2 separate regions of the Homo sapiens genome follow, and region 1 is linked to region 2. Evidence: promoter capture Hi-C in human tissues and cell types (Jung and others, 2019). All regions are on one chromosome and are shown on one strand. The core of a region is centred on a gene start or on the middle of the fragment in contact, and the rest is flanking DNA. Distances in the headings are between cores, read along the strand shown. Region 1 overlaps LATS2 (large tumor suppressor kinase 2). Region 2 holds the start of LATS2 (large tumor suppressor kinase 2).

Region 1 (3,118 bases), core at 569-3,068, 64 kb after region 2:
GGGCCTGCGGCGCCACCAGCGGTCGGAGGCGGCCACGGCTGGGGCTGGAGCTTCTGCTGCATCCGCGCAAGGTGGCGACTCATTTTCTTCAAGCACACAGACATTTAAACTCCAAAGGCCACTACTTCCATTTGTCCTCCACCTGTTTTCCAGTCATAATTGGCTCGCACACGGCACGTGCTGCGCCTGCCCAAGGTCACCGGGGCCCCTGCCTCGCGTGGACAAGGTTGTGGACCAGGTCGCCAGAACCCCCGCCCTGCGTGCACAAGGTCGCGGGGATCCCTGTCCTGCGTGGACAAGGTCGTGGAAAAGGTCACCAGGGCCCTTGCGCCGTGTGCGCAAGGTCACCGGGACTCCTACCCTGCGTGGACAACGTCGCCAGGGCCCCCGCCCCGCGTGCACAAGGTCGTGGACAATGTCGCAGGGCCCCCACCCGGCGTGCACAATGTCGCTGCGGCCCCCGCCCCGTGTGGACAAGGTCACGGGGCTCTGCCCCACCAGCCCAAGGTTGTCGGGCCCCGCCCCGCCTCGCCCCGCATTGACAAGGCCTTGGGGCCCCACCTGCCCAAGATCGCCGGGAGCGCCGCGCTCAGGGGAGGGGCACGCAATGGTGGGGCGGTTAGAGGAGGCCTGGGCCCGGAGGGCCTCATTCTTCCAGGGGCCTTTCCGTGGGGGTGGGGTTGGAACACCCTTTGGAAATTCCAGCTCCTCGGCTCCTGTGTTCTCATAAAAAAATCTAGGCCTTTGGGTCAGAGATTCTTTTGAAGACCACCCTGCTGGCAATCCTCCAAGCAAGCACAGGATCCCGCCAGAGACAGTGCAGCCTCCTCTGCCAGCCAACTGGCCCCTCTCATCCTCTTCTCTCCCTCAGTCTTTGTTTTTTCTTAATTTAATTAATTAATTAATTTTTGTTTGTTTGTTTGAGACAGGGTCTCTTGCTCTGTCTCCCAGGCTGGAGTGCAGTGGCATGATCTCAGCTCACTGCAGCCTCCACCTCCCAGGTTCAAAGTGATTCCTGCCTCAGCCTCCCATGAAGCTGGAACTACAGGCACCCACCACCATGCCCAGCTAATTTTCTCACTTTTTACAAACATGCGGGTCTTGCCCAGGCTGGTCTTGAACTCCTGGCCTCAAGCGATCCTACCTTGGCCTCCCAAAGCCCTGGGATTACAGGCGTCAGCTACAACTTAAGTGGAAGTTACCTGAGAAAGCCTGAGAGACAGGCAGACACAGACAGAGGCCCACGCAGACACGATAGGGCCAGAGTGCTCCGTTTCTACTTTTTCAGCCAAACCTCATAGTTGGAATGTTAAAACTTTAGGATATGGTTTTGCTAAGGCTTGAAAAATGCTTCCTTACCAGGAAGGGCTGAGTGGGGGAGGATCTCCATAGGAAATTCCTTCCCTCATACATAATAATTGTCACTGCATTTAAATTACTTGCATTCACATGGCAATGCACGTGAAATACTTCTGCTGCTTAGACATTGCAAGCCCAGCTCCTGCCTTGCTAAGAGCTGAGCGGTAGATTGAAGGAGTGTCTTCCAGTTCCCACCCGTCCTCGTAAGCCCTGTGCTTAGTAGAAGGGGACCAAGCCAAGAGAGCAGAGGGTGTGTCAGGAGCCCATGCTAGGCTGTCTGGCAGCTGGTCAGCAGCTGGAGAGCTGGGTGAGGCCAGCTTCCCCGAGGGACAGCAGAGAAGATCATTAAATGGTGATGTACCTGCAACAGAGGCCTGGACCATCCCATGGGGAGGTTTGGAGCTGGGGTGTGGTCCTTGCAATTGAGAGGACCAGCCTCAAGATACTGGCAGGGCCTGATACTGGCAGGTGTCCCACCCCTCAGCCACCTCGCCGTTTTGTTAAAGTGCCTCTTTTGCAGTCCTTTCTATATCAGATAGCATATGGGCAAATCTCACATTTTCCAGGCTTCGTAGTGGTTAGGTCCAGTTTTAAGCGAACATCAATTTGTTGACAAAATGTAAGAGGAGAAATCTCTTGGGAAAGATACCTAAGGTACAGATGTTCAAAACTGCTTTATTCATGTGTAATTCACACACCTAAAGTGGAGTTTTACAAGAGCTGTCAGTAGCAGCAGTAAACCAGTGAAACCTCAGTTTGTCTTGCCCTTCTCAGTCCCTCCCCAATCTCTTAGTTTTAGCCATGAGGCAGAAAACCTCTTGAGGAGCTCTGCTTTAATGGAGTGGGAAGAATTCCTTCTATCTGGTCCAGGGCCACCACCCCAAGCTGAGACTAGCCCACTGCAGTGCATGTCACCGCTCTCCAGAAGAGACGAGGCTGCCAGGCCCCTCGGGGTGTCTGTCCTTTGTGCCATAGTATTTAGCCCTACTAGCTTCTATTCTACAGCCAATCTGACAAAATAATTTTTCATTTAATATTTATGAATCTGCAAGAATAGCCCAGAGGGTAGCAGATAAGGGCTCCAGGTAAGAGCCCGTCAGACTCTTATTTTGTAACCATTGTGGCTCCCCAAACTGTGAGGCATAGAGTTTATGCCATGTCAGGTTTTGCTGAATTTGATATGGAGTGTGAATAATAGTATCAGTTCTGCCTTCAAAGTATCCAGAATCTTCTATCAGCCCAGGCACGGTGGCTCACACCTATAATCCCAGCACCTTGGGAAGCTGAGGCAGGTGGATCACCTGAGGTCAGGAGTTCGAGACCAGCCTGGCCAACATGGCAAAACGCCACCTCTACTAAAAATACAAAAATTAGCCAGGTATGGTGGTGGTTCATGCATGTAATCCCAGCTATTCGGGAAGCTGAGGCAGGAGAATTGTTTGAATCTGGGAGATGAAATTTCAGTGAGCCAATATTACGCCACTGTACTCCACCCTGGGGGACAGAACGAGCCTCTGTCTCAAAAAAAAAAAAAAAAAAATCTTCTACCACTCTAATGTAGGTAGAAAAAAAATGCTTCTGGACTGGATGTGAGATGTGAATGAAATCTCAAAGTCAAGATGCTTCCAAGGTTGGGAGCCCTGAGAGAACTGGTAAGTTAGAGGCAGGAGATTGGGTTTTGCACATGTTGAGTCATCTTACTCTTGCAGCAGGTGGCATGGAGTGGTCACTGATGAAGGAAGTGTTGAACACTGCAGGT
Region 2 (2,838 bases), core at 218-2,717:
CAGAATATTGGCTGGAGACTTATTTTGCTCCCAGTACTGTGCAAGATATCTGGGTAGCATACAGGATACTATCGAAAAATTAAATTGAATTCTAAGCTGCACGATGATGGTTTCTTTTTTTTTTTTTTGCACACTTCTGCTGGCAGGAAGGGATTACGGTTTGATTATCAGAGCCCAAAGAAGAGAGAAAACAGAGATCTGAGAAGATTCCCTGGAAGAGCTGAGGCCTTAAGAGATTGAAAGAGAGGGAGGGGAGGAGGATGAACCAGGGACTGAAGGCTGGGTGAGACTGTCAAAATAGTGCACAGATAATGACCTTTACTACTGTTTCCCATGAGAGTAAAATTTAAAAATTTCACAAGAGTTTGTCAATTAAAGAGGAAATCGAGTTGACTTTAAACACTATATTGACCCTCAGCATCACTTGCCACAGATATAGGTGGTAGGAAGTATGATGTTAGGAGAGCCAGAAGTAGACTGAGGATTTGGCTTCCAGTCTATTATTTCTACTGTGAATCTTTGCACCATCCCTGCTTCTGTCCCTGTACCAGATCCACAGTCCTCAAATGGATAGTGAAGCTGTTCAAAACCCACGACCTCACTTGCTGGTATATACGGTACTATACTATTCCCTACACCATAAAATACTTCTCAGAAAGAAAATATACATGGGGAGGGGAGGTTGATTAAATTAAATCAGGTTAAATTTGGGTGTGCATCAGACGTTCTTTTTTTTTTTTTTTTGAGACGGAGTTTTGCTCTTCTTGCCTAGGCTGGAGTGCAATGATGCGATCTCAGGTCACCGCAACCTCCGCCTCCCGGGTTCCAGTGATTCTCTTGCCTCAGCCTCCCGAAGAGCTGGGATTACAGGCATGAGCCACCACGCCTGGCTAATTTTGTATTTTTAATAGAGACGGGGGTTTCTCCAAGTTGGTCAGGCTGGTCTCGAACTCCCGACCTCAGGTGATCCACCCGCCTAGACCTCTCAAAGTGCTGGGATTACAGGCGTGAGCCACCGCTTCTGGCAAACGTCCTTCTTAATTGTTTGATTCCACTGTCCCAATAGCCGTCTGTCCTTTTCTGCCCCTATTTTTAGTGTCCAGCCACTAGTTGGTAACTTGGTGGCTCCTTCAGGCCTGCTAACTTTTTTTTTTCTTTCACCAAGACTGGTATGAGATACTTAAGAATAGTGGCTTTAACGACAGTTACCAACTTTTAATACAAATGCAGTCGAGAGGGCAAATACTCAAGTTTGGGGGCAGATAGCAGCCAGTCAAATAGGTCCGAGAGGCCCTGGCGAGCTACCGCAGGCCAGCAGGGAGGCCGTGGGCAGGTGGCGGTCGAGGCCGGAGGCAGGAAGCACGGCCGGGCGGGGCTGGGCGGAGCGGCCGCGGAGGAGCAGGGGCCGCAGGCGCCCCGCCCGGACTGGTATGCGGCCGAGAGTGACGCGGGAGGCGGGGTCACGTGACGCCCGTGGAATGCCAACAATGTAGCGAATGTCCCACTTGGGTCTGCGCTTTGGAACCGCGGCGTGAGCGCCCCGGGAAGATGGAGCAGTCGCCGTCCACGCCACCGCCGCCGCCCGGGGCTCCCCCGTCCCTGCGGGGCCAGCAGCAGCTCCAGCCACCAGTGCCCGGTCTCCCGGCGCGAGAGGCCCGGGAGCCGCCGGCCAGGACGCCCCCGAGGGTGTAGACCGCGCCCCTGGAGGTGAGGGGGCTGGGAGCTGGGGTCGGGGCGGCAGCTCGGAGGGTGGCGAGAGTTTCCGCGAAGCGGTCGAGCCCTGCGGCTCCGCGCACCTACTGTGGTGCCGAGGCTCCGGGAAGGGCGCCCGGCGGGGCGGCCGAGGAAGTTTGTCCGGACGGAGCCCTGCGCCCTGCCCCCACGGTCCGCGCCCGCCCGGAGCCGCCCCCGCCCGGCGGCTCGTAGTCCAGGCCGTACGGAGCCCGCGGAGCCGGTTCCAGAGGAGCCGGGGAAGTTGGAGGCCGGCGTCGGGCGGGGGCAGCGGGGCTGCGCCGCTTTGTTGTGCGGCGACCGGGGCGGCCGGGATCCCGGCGGGGCAGGGGCGGCGCGGGCCGGGGGCGGTGTCCTAGACCCGAAAGGCCGTAGCGCCGGGCGCGCCTCTGCTTCCGCTGTCTCCGGGGGATCGGCTTTTCACTAGACGCCCGGCCGGGCGCCCCTGACAGCCTCGGGACCCCCGGTCCGGCGGCGCAGCGGTCCCACGGATCCGGGGCCATCCTCCCGGCCGCGCCATCGTCCCACGGGCCAATCAGTCCTTCAGAGCCCGCCCTGTTGGCCCCCGCCGGCCGCCCCGTCGTCCCGCGAGCCGACGGACCCACGGCGGTGCCGCAGTCGAGGCCGCGCCGCCCCTCAGCCCCCGGTGGCTGCGCCGCCTCACCCACTGCCGCGCGGTTCCCACCCCGTTCCCCGCGGCCGCGCCGCCGGCTCACGGGCCAGTCAGCCCCTCAGAGGCCACCGGACCCTGGGGGCGCCGTTCCTCCCGGGCTGCGGGCGGCCAGGCCCTGCTCGGCGTCTCCCGGCCGGCTGCCGCGCCAACTCTGCGAGTTTGCTCACGGTCTTGGCGGGACGCGGCCCGAGGCGCAGGAGCGCTTTCGTGGCCACGCGAACGGCGGCCGTTGCATAACACGCCATTCCCGTGCCCTAGTTTAGCGACGTGTGGGGGGTTTGGCTTTCTCTTCTGATGTAAGCTCACCTGCGCTTAGCTCCCCAGCCGGACTCTGGAGATGGGGATTCTGACATCATTCACATCTTGCCATCACATCCTTCAGCCCAACTCCAGAACTTCTGGGGAGCTTTCCCTCGGGGATGGAGTGCGGCCTG

What was found. The method cuts DNA at HindIII sites, captures the fragments that hold promoters and counts their contacts. A contact is called where the count stands out against the background at its distance.
Region 1: a contact is called between a fragment that was not itself captured here and the fragment with the promoter of LATS2 in region 2, in 2 of the 25 tissues and cell types used here (IMR-90 fibroblasts and neural progenitor cells).

Annotation. Positions count from the first base shown.
Region 1 is chr13:20,996,159-20,999,276 of GRCh38, reverse strand. The region is part of intron 2 of LATS2 (large tumor suppressor kinase 2); the gene reads left to right. Among named protein-coding and RNA genes, the nearest start is that of LINC00367, 48 kb to the right of the region's middle. RefSeq lists enhancers at 340-876, 1,658-2,197. The HindIII fragment of the contact is 5,541 bases long and covers 1-3,118 here.
Region 2 is chr13:21,060,215-21,063,052 of GRCh38, reverse strand. It overlaps LATS2 (large tumor suppressor kinase 2), which reads left to right and starts at 1,467. Exons shown (of 8, transcript NM_014572.3): 1 at 1,467-1,707. RefSeq lists silencers at 1,253-2,052, 2,193-2,602 and an enhancer at 2,108-2,838. The HindIII fragment of the contact is 21,659 bases long and covers 1-2,838 here.